Regions from separate parts of the Homo sapiens genome. Here region 2 is linked to region 1. Evidence: promoter capture Hi-C in human tissues and cell types (Jung and others, 2019). All regions are on one chromosome and are shown on one strand. The core of a region is centred on a gene start or on the middle of the fragment in contact, and the rest is flanking DNA. Distances in the headings are between cores, read along the strand shown.

What was found. Contacts are between HindIII fragments. The study calls those that stand out against the background at their distance.
Region 2: a contact is called between a fragment that was not itself captured here and the fragment with the promoter of ADAMTS9 in region 1, in 1 of the 25 tissues and cell types used here (hippocampus).

Annotation. Positions count from the first base shown.
Region 1 is chr3:64,685,734-64,692,489 of GRCh38, reverse strand. ADAMTS9 (ADAM metallopeptidase with thrombospondin type 1 motif 9) reads left to right here and starts at 4,490. Exons shown (of 40, transcript NM_182920.2): 1 at 4,490-4,947; 2 at 5,522-5,922. The coding sequence starts at 4,833. All of the region lies in intron 1 of ADAMTS9-AS2 (ADAMTS9 antisense RNA 2), which reads right to left. The HindIII fragment of the contact is 6,670 bases long and covers 1,208-6,756 here.
Region 2 is chr3:65,406,318-65,413,073 of GRCh38, reverse strand. The region is part of intron 12 of MAGI1 (membrane associated guanylate kinase, WW and PDZ domain containing 1); the gene reads left to right. Among named protein-coding and RNA genes, the nearest start is that of LINC02040, 230 kb to the right of the region's middle. RefSeq lists an enhancer at 4,249-4,788. The HindIII fragment of the contact is 3,453 bases long and covers 2,123-5,575 here.

The sequences.
Region 1 (6,756 bases), core at 3,241-5,740:
CATTGTGTTGCTAATTTGGCTGCAGTTTGGAAGTAGTTTGGATCAAAGCTAGAAGCCTAGCACTTCTGAATTCCATTTGTAGTTATGATGTTGAACCCCAGGTGTGAAGCTCTCATTTCAAGGATAGTAGAGGGAGGAGAAAAAGGATTTGAAGCCCTAAGAATACAGTCAAAGGAAAGATTAGTGGGATGCATATGGAGTTTTAAAGCCTGAGCAATAATGTGAGTATGGTCTTCTAGAATGACAAGTCAACAAGGAGCTCCTGCTGAGTGAACAGGCTGAAGATCGGATCACCTTCGTAGAACTGCTATAAGCTGGTCATGAGCTATACAGAGCCACCTCCAAAGTGGAACTATGACTTTCAGAGTAGGGTCAAGAAAAGCTAGTTAGAACTTTAGATTTAGCATTAGAAGAAAAAATGATGTTCTCACAGATGGTATTCATCAGGCCAAATATAAATGCTGAATGATGAAGATCAATTAGGCGACAGTCTTTATGTTACTAGGCTGCTCTGATTAATGGAGATCACAAGCTTTGGAGGTAACTGGACCCCAGTGTAAATCCCAACTGCACATTCTGACTCCATAATGCCAGGCAAAGTCACTTTAATTTTGCTGGGTCTTATTTTCATTGTAAGTAAAATGAGGAGGGTAAAACCCAGATGGCAGGATAGCTATGAGGATTGAATAATTAGCACAAAGAACTCAATGAAGGGAATCTACTGTTATTATCAATAATGATACAAACTACTTTCTCTACAGTACCTGTTGCTTGAAGTCAGTAGTTAGAAGACTTTTAAAAAATACACTAAGGTCATTCACTCACAGGGCAAACAAAGACAACACAGTTTCTACCTGCTGCAGTCTGCAAATAGGAAACCGGATCAGAGAGGACATAGTACACATGGTCTGGTACATAGTAAGTACTCAAGAAAAGATTCTCATTATTATTATTCAGACAAAAGATTGGAACCCAAATTATTTAGTTAGCACAATTGTCCTTTTCATTTCTTGTCATGTAAAACACATCTCCCTAAGATTCTTTAGGCCCAAGGTCACAGAGCTCAGCCAGCACCAGGTCCCAGCTTGGTGATTCACTGACCAGAATGCAGTGCTACCAAGTACCAGGGGCTTATCTGTTCCCCAAATCACCTGACGCTGCTGACCACTCAGGAAACTATTCACTTGAATTCTGGCTCCTGGGCCCTCCCTACCATTTGGGTGTGGGTTTCCCCTTTCTGTGGAAATTGATGGCTTTGCTTCAAGTCTCCTTCCTGCTGTTTCCAGTGGCATTAGGCAAACAGAGTCATTTGTGATGTCATCACTGTCATTTCCATTGGCCGGATTATCTCTCCCTAGTGACTAATATCATTCATCACTCCTCTGGGATCTAATTTTCATGACGAATCAGCCAATGAATACTTCCACTTAACCTACAATACCATTCAATTCCAGTAAAGTCCCACGAAGAAAACGGGCTAAAAACTGTCCCTCCTTTAACTCCAGGTGACCTTGAAAAGGTTTGCTTCTTTCAGAGCAAATTTTTATGAGGGGCCAATTTATTTTATTTCATTTTATTATTTCTTTTCTCTTTTTTTGTAGAGACAAGGGGTTGCTATGTTGCCAAGGCTGGTCTTGAACCGCTGAACTGACCTCATGCAATCCTCCCACCTCAACCTTCCAAAGTGCTAGGATTACAGGTGTGAGCCACCATGCCTAGTCTTAATAAATACTTATTGACTACCTACTATGTGCCAGATCTCTTCTAACTGCTGAGGGAAAAGCTGTGAAATATCAATGAAATCGCTGACATGATTTTCATTAAATACTTTGCATGAGAAGAATAAGAGAGAGCTAAAGAAAAGTTATACATGCAATAAAAGCTTGAGGCAATTCTCTGAATGATTTTAGCCATTTTCCCACAAAGCAACCCTCCAAAAATCTAGCAGTGCTTCTGATTAATCAGTTATTCATGACATATGATAATAGTTATGAACTTGGATTGAACGACTGAAACGGAGTTTGAATCGTGTCTCTCACTTACTGGATTGAGGGGGGTCAAATTATTTCACTTATTCAGATCTCGGTATCCTTATTGGTAAAATGAGATTACTGACACTGACTTCCTGAAAGAGCTGTTTTGAGAATTAAATTAAATGCTATATGTTACCCCATGGTAAGTACTGAATAAGAGTACTTATTTAGACAAAGAGTAATTATTCAGACAAAAGATTTTTGCCTGACTTGCTTAGTTAGCTCAACTGTCTTTTTCATGTCTCACGATTTAAAAGACATTTTCCTAAGATTCTTTAAGACTTTTTTACAGATGTAAATGCAGAAGCCAGCTAATACACTGAAGAAAAGATGGGTAGACTCACTAAGGATGAGAAATTCATAAACCTAGGTTCTTGGTCACCTCAGGAGTTCACCAAGAGATATTTTGTATCTTTCTGGCCTATCAGCTCTTGTGGATCAATTTTTTAAAACTGTAGACAAAGTTCATTCTTCAAGCAAAGTCCTAGAAAGAAAGCAAAGGAGAGAGAGTACACAAAGGAGGCTTCTGTCCCTACATATCGTAATTTCTATACCATTAGTTAACTTCTCTTTGTCAGGAAGGATTTGAACTGAAAGAGAAAAAAAGATTTAATGGGAAATACTGGAAAGTGCTATATTTTTGAGTAATTTTACAATGGAAGTACTGGAATATTTTCCACAGGAATCAGCCAATAGATTGATTTCTTGATATTTTTCTGTTCCTTACTAAATTTTCAGCAACTCCCAGACACTGTGATTGTGGGGAATGTTGTTATAATAAAAAGAAAGATTGTGTATTAGAAGAAACGTATTTTAGTGAATTAATTTGGAGGTTCAAGGTTTAAATGCCATTCTCTAAAAATCTCTAATTGTGCACAATACAGATGTTATTTTTCCATCCTTACATTTTACATATCCATTATGAAATTCCAGTAATAAGACGATGGTAACATTATCAATTTGGGTTAACAATTATTTAGCAAATTCGTCTTGCCAAGTCATTTTTACCCTTCACCAGAAGAAATATATGTATTAGTATCTCAAGAATAGTTGACATTGCTAGCATATTGCGATTTGGTTCCTGGTGTTGGCAATCTTTGGTATTTCTAGTCCTGAGTGCTAACCTACCACGCAACAGAACCTCAACCCCCGTTCTAGGATACTTGGGCAAATATATATTTATTAGTCATATATTTATATATTTTTAACGATATTGTCATGTCTTTCCTCTTGAAATTATCTTGAAATTCTATCTTCCTGAGGGCTGGTTAAAGAAAAGGCGCCACTGAACCACCCAAGATTGAACAATTCACACACACACACACACACACACACACACACACACACACGAAGGTGTAGCTTGAAGCGCCTGCTTTCAGTCTTTCCCAGTCTTTCCAAGCATCTCTCAGGCTGAAAGCAAGCGGAAGTGATTGAGAAATCCCTCCAGGGACTGGTGCCTCCCACAGGGATCTACAACTTTACACTCCATCCCCCCTTCCCCTCCCATCTCTAAACCCCCTGGTAGTGAGGGGCGCCAGAGTCCCCGCCCCTTCTTGCTGCCAAAATTTGTTCTTAACCTTTTTTGGGGCAGGGGACCTACAGAATGCTATGGACCCTCCATGAATGGTGACAGAGGTTGGTGGAAAGCACAGCTTAAATATTTTGCGAAATTTTCAAGAGACCACGTATTAGAAACACACTCCGACCTGCAGGATTAAGAACCCCATTTCTAAAACTCTTGACTTGGGGTGATTAAATCGAGAGCGGAGCTCAGGTGCCAAATCTCTTCCCGAATGAAAAAGTGTAGGAAGGGAAGGCGCTCCGGCGCTGGGCCACTTTCACTTGTAAGAAACCAAAAGATGGGGACTGGTGGCAAGAGATGGGGACGGAAGAGAAAGGAAAGGAAAAGGAGAAATGTGAGAAACAGACAGGGACACGGTGGGGCGGGGAGAAGACAGACATCACAGGGGAAAATGGGGAGAAGGGACAGAGTCCGAGAGGCACAGCAGCAGAGAGACAAGGGGGAGGAGGAAAAAGAGACTCGGAAGGGAGGAGAGAGAGGAGAGGAGAGGAAAAAGACGAGAGGGGAAGTGGCTGCACGCGCGCCAGGAAAGGGAGAGAACTTTCCCTGCTTTCCCTCCCCGGGGCAGGGAATCTCAGAAAACCCCACTTCAGCGAGGTGGCGGGGACCAGGAACAGCTGCCCCGGCGCTGGTGACGCCTCTGGCCTCCGCCTCTTGCAGCCGGCAGGGCCTCCGGCTGCGAGTCCCGCACGGGCCGGCCGAGGAGGGGACATGGTCTGGAAGGAGGCGGTCCCCGTTCGTCTCGCTTTCTCCTCCCCTCTCCTCCTCTTAGAGGCGTGCACCGGGGGCATTTGAGAGGCTGTGGACCCGCGGCCCCCCCGCCTCCGCCCCCCCAGCCCCCCATTCAAGAAGCCGCTCAGCTATCCCGGCCAGCACAGGGCGCCCGGCGCGCCTCGGAGCGCAAGTTCCTCGCCTTCTCCTGCCCGCTCGCTGGGCATTATGCGGCCAAGCAGCCGAGCCCCAGTCCTCCTCCTCCTCCTGCTCCTCCGGCTCCTCCTGCGGCCCGAGCGGCTCAGCTCTCGGCAGGCGGCGGCGTTGCTCAGCCGAGCGCAGACGGGACCCTCGCAGCGAGACCTCAGCGACTCCTAAAGTCAAAAGTTGGCGGCGGGCGCCGGGCTCCGCGCGCTCTCCACGGCCGCTGCCTCGCGTCGCCGCCGCAGCCAAGGAGGGCAGGAGGGAGGGGGGTGGGGGCAGCGGAGGGAGGGGTGGGAAGCACCATGCAGTTTGTATCCTGGGCCACACTGCTAACGCTCCTGGTGCGGGACCTGGCCGAGATGGGGAGCCCAGACGCCGCGGCGGCCGTGCGCAAGGACAGGCTGCACCCGAGGCAAGGTAACCAGGCTCCGGCCCCCGGGACCCCGCCGGCCCCGACGCCGCCTCCCGGTCCTCGCTCCTGGGCAGGGGCACCCCGCAGCGGAGGCTTCTCTCCTTTTCCTAGAAAGAATTATCTCCCGCTTTGCAGCCTCTCCCTTCTTTGGGTCATCCCCAACCAATTGCTAGGGAGGGACACTATGGAAACGAATTTAGGCAACCCCCCCCTACCTTGCTGTTGCCAGATATATCCCCATCCCCACTCCCACGCCGCAAACTAAAGTAACTTAGTAATTGGGGGCACCAGATAGCGTCATGTTTTATTTTATTCAGGTTATTTATCAATATCTGAAATCATATATATTTTGACTTGTTAATTGTCTGGCTCGGAATAGTGTATCCTCAGCACCTAGCACAGGTCCTGTTACTGGCACATAGTAGGTGCTCAGCAAATATTTGTCCACTGATTAAGGGTGAAGGGATTGACTCGAATGGGCTGGAAAATAAGGTCAGAACAAAGTCCCCACCTTCGTTTTAAATTAAAGCTTAAGGAAAAATGAATTATTGGTTCATATACCTCTGCTTCTCTCCGCAGTGAAATTATTAGAGACCCTGAGCGAATACGAAATCGTGTCTCCCATCCGAGTGAACGCTCTCGGAGAACCCTTTCCCACGAACGTCCACTTCAAAAGAACGCGACGGAGCATTAACTCTGCCACTGACCCCTGGCCTGCCTTCGCCTCCTCCTCTTCCTCCTCTACCTCCTCCCAGGCGCATTACCGCCTCTCTGCCTTCGGCCAGCAGTTTCTATTTAATCTCACCGCCAATGCCGGATTTATCGCTCCACTGTTCACTGTCACCCTCCTCGGGACGCCCGGGGTGAATCAGACCAAGTTTTATTCCGAAGAGGAAGCGGAACTCAAGCACTGTTTCTACAAAGGCTATGTCAATACCAACTCCGAGCACACGGCCGTCATCAGCCTCTGCTCAGGAATGGTAAGTGGGCGCGCGCCACCTCCTCTCCCCTTCCGCCTCCTCGCCCGCTTCTAGAAGACTTAATTGTCCTCTAAGCCTAGAGACCCTCACTGTGGCGAGGCTCCGCTCCTCTCCGGCGTTAAATATCAGCTAGAAACTCGTATGGTTTGGGTAGCTAGCTCTGTGCGTGCGAGTACACTGGCGTGGAGCGCACACACCCGCCCCCAGGGGCTTCTGGATGTTTCAGAGCTTTCTGGAGTTTGGACTCGGTTCAGCGGCGCGTTGCCCAACGCTGCGAGGCGGCCTGGAAGTCAGTTTCCAAACTCGGAGAAAGTTACTGGAGTTGCGGTTCCCTGCAGCAAACTTGGCCACCCGGGAGCGGAGCCGCTGAGCGCAGGGCGGACCAGACTCCTTATTGGTGCGCCTTGCATCGGGGATGTGGGGCTGAGGATCCCCTGCCCAAGGCACTGGGAGTTCCTTCAGTGTGTGTTGTGGAGGGCGGTGCGTAATCTAGAGTCCCCGCTTTCTCTCAGGGCCTTTATTCACGCGCCAGGAACCCTGAGGCTGAACTGGATTGACAGGGAGCAGGTCCCGTCCCAGGAACGGAAGGGTGGGCCGAGGGCTCTGGGGGCGGGGGAGAAGGCGGAGCCTACCCCGGACGCTTTGAATTGGGGTGGAACCGAGAGTGGGGGTGCAGCGCAGTCCAACTCTGCACCCTACTGGCGGGGTGGCCGGGAGAAACGGGATAGTGGGAGACAGCCTGGAGAGGCTGTCCGGACGTGATTTCGGTTCCTCTGGGGTTTCTACTACTCACGGGTTCCAGGGAGTGGAGAGAGGGAGCCTGCGGCGCACGTT
Region 2 (6,756 bases), core at 2,600-5,099, 720 kb before region 1:
GTTCGCTTTTTGTAGGGAAGAGTGAGGCATTGAGAGGCATTGAACCCAGTGCTGTAATAAAAGTTTGCTTTAGTAAGTAAGGATATGAAGCTATCCTTACCTGAAGATTTAGATCTCAAAGAATCCTTGAGAACATATCCATTTGCTGGAGTGGGGAGCTTATAGGGTTTGGTGTTTCCCTCTGAGCTTTCAGTTTGTTCTGAGACCAAAGCTCATCTGTGGTGATGGGAAGTCAGGACACCAGGTGGCACAGCGGAACCTTGTTCTCTGTGCTGAGTGAGGCAGTTGTGAGTTGAGCCGAACCTGGCAGCTCACCAATAAATCAAGGAACAGACCAAGGATCAAGAGCTGTTAAACAGTCACTGCAGCAATGATGGCTATAAAAAGAAAGGCCAAGCAGCTCCTCCCCTTTGCCTCATCAGCTCTTCCTGCAGCTTTCAAGGTGTAAACTCATTTCATGAGCTCTGCACATTCATACATGCATTTGAGAGATACAGGTGTTTATTGAACTGTTGACCAGATACTGTTCTAGGGATAGACCGATAAAATAGAATAGGTCCCTGAAATAGAGACAATCAATAAGTAAACAATAAACAATATAAATAATAGACAAGTAAACAAGGTCATTTTAGAGAGTGATAGGCTCAATGAAAACAAAGACACTGGGTTGTGTGAATAAAGTGGGTCAGAAAAGGGCCACTTCAGATCTGCTGGTAGCCTGCCTGGATCTCTGGTTGGCTCTCTGAAGGAGTCACCTTTGAGGAGGGTCCTGAGTGAAAGGCAGGAGCCACCCACACATAGATCTGCAGGCATAGAGTTCCAGGCAGAGGGAGCAGCCAGAGAAAATGCCCAGAGAATTGCAAGGAGGCAGTTCCGCAGTGGAGGGTGCCAACCTGGCTGGAGTGTGTGTCCAGGAGGAGGAAGTAAAGAGATAGGAGGGGTCACATCCAGGAGGGCTTAGTGGGACACTGAACAAAGAGTTTGTCTTTAATTGAAATGGTTTTGGGAAGCCATAGGGACATGGAGCCAGGAGACAGTACAATCTGATTTCTGCCGTTTAAAGTTGTCTCTGGCCTCGGTGCGGATAATAAAGAGGATAAACCATAAAGCAGAGACCAGTTTCTGGACTCATGTGGTCATCTAGGCAAGAGAAGGTAGTGGCAGTGGAGATGAACTTGGATGGATTCAGAATGCGTTTGGAGACGGATATGGTGGGAGAGAGAAAAAGAAGCCTCAGGCAGGGTCTTAGGTTTCAGGGGTTTGGTGTCCTATAAGGTTAAAAGCCCGGATATTATTCTGGGTTTCTATCTTGGTCCTGAGCCTAACTTACATTACTAAAAATAAGCAGTTGGGATAAGAAACAACCTAAAAGTCAGCAATGCAAAAGAAAAGGGCCCCAGCGTGTATTTTTTAACCTACAAGCTTCTCAGCACCAATTACAGTGATAGGTTTTCCTTTGGGGCCGGTGACCTTAAAATAAGGGCCCACACAGCATCCTGTTTTTCCAACCCAGAAAAGGAATCCTTATCAGTGTTTTCTTTTGGTGAGCTATTTTGAGCTATTGTTTCATAATCCCCCCGTACATCCTATGTAGTTAAAAATCACCCTCTCAAATTTGTAGGAACTGCATGGGGCTATCAGGCCACCATAGTTTCACCTATCTTAGGGAGACCTCTGTGAATGAGCTGTTGATAAGAGGAATGGGTTACATGGTCAACCCTTAAGTATTTGCATAAAAAGCAATTCAAATTTGAAATATAGGTACTAGAAGCCTCAAGTTGTCGGTATGGTAGTTAAGGAGTCTTCCTTAGAGGTAGAAGCATTTTTAGATGAAGACAAGACCCGACTTCTAAATGCCACAATTACAAATATTTTTAACTTACATAAAGTTAGAGAGCTTTCCTAGAACCATATGAGAAACTAGCTTAATTCTACCCTTAAAAAGTAGATCTTGGTAGGAATATTACCTAGGGTAGAAAGATTGACCTCGTGGTAGGTACATCTTGACAAATTAGTGGTTGTTTTAAGTTAACGGTTCTTTTTCTTTCCTTTCTGGAGAGAAGATGCCATAGTTCACTCCACTTCTGACTCATTCCATATCTTTTCTCTAAGCCCATTAATAAAAAAGAAATTTTGTTATTAGGTAGCGTCAGGAAACATTTGCAAGCTAGAAAAAGCTCCTGCCCACTTTGAAACTGAGTTTTTGTGGCCAGTCAACCTGTTAGTTGTGTAGCTTTAAAGACATGCTTCATTGTCCCAAATCAGAGACTGATCTCGTTGTATTTTTAGCATGTGTAGCCTTGAATGACCAGTGATTTAGGTACTGAGACTTGGAGTAAAATATCAGGGATGTGTTAAGAAATTGATTGACTGTGCATACACTCTTCGGCTATCTGTAGAAAAGAACTGTCTTCCCAAATGCATGTCGCAGTTATGAGCCCTAGATACCTTGACCCCGTTGACCTAGCAGTTGTCAGTGGTAGGTCCATGTATTTCATAAAGCTATATTAAAAATTTTCTGTAAATGCATTTGGTATGTATGAATGGCTATAGGATTAATCTTATCGTAGTAGACTCTAAACCAAAATAATTAAGGAACCTTTGAATGACAGCATATAGTTTAAAAGCACAGGCTTGGTTTTAGACCAAGTATCCCCAGCTATTCACCTGACTGTGTGACATTGGCCATGTTACTTGACCATCAGTGTCTTGGTTTTCTCTTCTGCAGAATGAGAAGATATTAGTACTTAGAGTGCAGGTACGAAGAATAAATTTATGTCAAAGACAGGCTCTGAATACTTTTTAGTTATTTTTGCACTAAGCTTTCAACCTTTAGGCATACTTCACATGTTTTCAAGAGTAGCAACAATAGGATCATCCATATCATTTCAATGACACCTTCTCTGGAGTGACCATTTATTTCTCAGGAATTGCATGGAGACAATTCATCCATCTTACCCAGGTCTTTGAGCAGTCCAAGGTATTTATGACTTTAGGTCTTTCTTACCTGTGCCAGGTCAAGGCTTGTGACTTTGAGGTGAAAGGCTCTGTAAGCCATCAGGAATCACCAGCTTTGCAAGCCATTTATTTCTACTGGGACATATTTATTAGACTATGTGTACTGTGTAATTGAAGCAGACTTCTCTGTAGCTGTAAAACCAGTACAACTATGTTCTTAATCTTCTTCACAAAATGCCAGCTGACACTGCCTTGGGAGCTACTTATTTCAGACATCTGAAGTCCAACTATCTCTCTAAATTATGATGGTCAAAATACTTCATAATGACCATTATTAAGTCCCCAAAGGAAAGAATGTCTTCATCTTTTTGGAGACATTGGGTCTGATACTTATGTTCTTGGCAGCTGGTATCATATTTGTATTGAAAAATTATGCTACGGGGTTATGATGGTATTTAGCCAGAAGAAGGAGAAAAAAAAAATGAAACATGTTCAAACTGGGATCGTTTTTTCATTCCTTTTTATGGATTCAATTTTGTGATATATAGTGTTTATAAAGTCCTTCAGTGAAAATGTACTCTGGTTTCAGCTTGGCCTTGAGTTTATGCTGGTACACTGATTTAGCTAAAACAAAACAACAACAAGAAAAGCTTATCATCATTATTCACTCAAGCATCAATCATTGCATGTGCTTCCACCCACTCCCCCACCCCACGATTAAATGCTAGCCATTCTTCACTTCAGCTCCTCCCTCTGCCCCCTTCTTCATATCGGATTAGATTTCTCTTCCCTGTATTCCTGAAAGCAACAGTGCTCCCTTCTCTCCTGGCATGTAACACTTACCACTGTGAATTATAAAACGGTTGCTTTGCTTTTTCTCTTTTAAAATAGACTATGAGCTCCTCCAGGGCAGGGGCCATGTCTGATTTACTTTTATCTCTTAGTGATGCTTTGCTAGGCATATGGCAGAGCTCAATAAATCTTGTATGAATGAATGGTCTCATGACTGGTTCCTTCTCATACTTCAGCTCTTAGCTCAAATACGGTCTCTTCAAGAAAGGCTTGCATGATCACCCAACATAAAGTAGTTGTGCATCCCCGGCACAGCCTGTTCCATTGTCCTGCGTCATTTTCATCACAGAAGTTACCACTCTCTGAAATTGTTTGCTAAGTTGTTTATTCTGTCTCCCCACAGAATGTGAGCGCTGTGAAAGCAGGACCCTGTAGGTCTTGCCCATTGCTTTATTTCATGCCAGTTCCTAGGCTGTCAGCACAGTTTGGTTACATGAGTGAGTGAATTTTCCCTGTTTTCCTTCCTACCCTCAGTGGAAACTGTGAAGGCTGAATGTACCTTTTCCTGTTTTCTGGACTGTCGTTAGCTTTTTATTGGTACAGAGAGAACAGTTTAAATTTATTTCATGGCTTATATATTCTCTATTAAACAAAGAAAACAAAAAACTGGTTGGCAGGAAATGATGCAGATGGCTTTTTTTTAGAAGGGTTGCCGGCCATTGATGTTCATTGTTTAGAACCACTGGATTGCAGTCAAATAATCATCAATTCTGATTGGCTGGGGAAGTCTCAGATTGTTCTCAATTTGTCTTTCCTGCACCCCATTGTGACTTTGCCTCGATAATCTCTTACTGTTTTGACTCATCAACCTACTACCCCCAACAAATAAAAGCATGGCCTAGGAGGCACATTCCTTTTACCAGGGAGCAGCACTTTTGCTGAAAATTACCTGTGTTCTTTAATACAGTTCCTCTCCTCATAATTTTTTCAGATGTGTCTTTTAAATCTTTCCAAGAAAGAAGGCGAAGTAAGCAATGCAAGTTTTACCTTTCTGTTTGATCCTTCCCATTGGCCCCTCTACTTATATGCTGCTCTTACTGAAAATAAAAGCTAAGCTAAAGTAAATCTCACCCTAGGAATTGCTTCTAATGCTATAGCCATATACTTGGACAAGGATGATTTAACTTAAGGACTATAGGCCCCAATAGAGTGGGTTTCTGAGGGTCACTAGTGAAGGTTTCAAAGACTCCCTGAAATTATATGCAAAATTATGTGCTTCTGTGCAGCTTTGCTTGAGAGGGGCTATAACAGCTTTGTGTCACATTTTTCAATCAAGGCCATGACCCAGTAATTTAGGAGCATAAACACTTGAGTAGAATGGTAGTAAGTCATTGAGCCAAAGGAGAGATAGAACAAACTCCAGTTGTTTTTTAATCTAGCACTGCGCTAAGGCCAGTATGTGCCATTGTCCAGGCATGCTACATATTGGCTGCAGTACTGATCCTGTTGATGATTATTGCCACATTATGTGTAAAATCCAGCAATCTTTGAAAATACTGAAAATAAGAATATGAATTACTTATTAATCCTAGTGTTTAGAAAAATATTTTAGTGCATTTCCTTTAGTCTTTGGGTATATGATGTGTGTGAATATATATGTATATCCACTTTTTAACAATGAGTTTATATATTCTATGCACAGTTTTTACCCTGCTGTTCATGTCTTATATCATTATTATTTCCCCCAATCACTGAATATTCTTTGTTGTGCTCATTTTTAATGGTTTCATAATTTTTCATCGTATTGATATAACACATCTCTCTACTCAGTCCTCCGCTCTTGGAAGTTCAGATTGTTTCCTTTTTTTTTTTTTTTTGAGACGGAGTCTCACTCTGTCGCCCAAGCTGGAGTGCAGTGGTGTGATCTTGGCTCACTGCAGCCTCCGCCTCCCAGGTTCAAGTGATTCTCCTGTCTCAGCCTCCCGAGTAGCTGGGATTACAGGTACCTGCCACCACACCCAGCTAATTTTTGTATTTTTAGTAGAGATAGGGTTTCGCCATGTTGGCCAGGCTGGTCTCAAACTCTTGACCTCAGGTGATCCACTTGCCTCAGCCTCCCAAAGTGCTGGGATTACAGGAATGAGCCTCCGCGCCCTGCCTGTTTCCATTTTTTATCATCTTAAAATAGTGCTGTGTCGACCATCTTTTTATAGGAATTTTTGCAAGACTGATTATTTCCTTAATACAAACTCCTAATGATCAGTTTACTGAGTTAAAATTAATTGTAAATTTAAAGTCCTACATTTAGAATTATGCATTGATAGGTTTTCGAATAACAGAGAAGGCTCATGTGGTCTGAGATTGTGCTCAGAAGTACTTTTATCTTCTTTGGTATCTAAGACCAGCCCTTGACCAAGACCTCACAGTCATTTTCTTTCAGTGGCTTTCAGTGGTCCCTGATGACTCCCTCTCTAGCTCCTACTCTCTCTGTCTCTCTCCCCCTCGATATATATATATAGAGAGAGAGAGATCTATAACTGTGTGTGTATGTGTGTATACATATATATACACACACACAGTTCCCTGCCCCTTGCACACTGTATTACCTAATCCAACTCCAGGACAGTTTTTCAGTTTTTATTGCAACATTTGCCTTGCGAAACTGTAAGGTATCCCATGTGTTCAGTGACATGTGGATTAGTGACACAGCATTTGTTGGAATGCTTAGGAGGAAAGCAAAATGTTTCCACTAAAATGCTGAAGTCGGGAGACCCAAATGCAGAGGGGAATGAATATCACAATGAAAAAATGTAAATTGATGACAAAAATAGTACATTTTTCTTATGCGTAGATCCATTTTGTATGTGACAGACACTTTAGGATTCACCCTTTCAAAGCCTCTTTGTGCAGTTTTTCTTGATTCATTCAGTTAGTGAGGTTGGTTGGCATTCCCACTTCCTTTAAACCTGGAGGAAATTAGGTCCAGAGAGGTCCACTCTCTTTCCC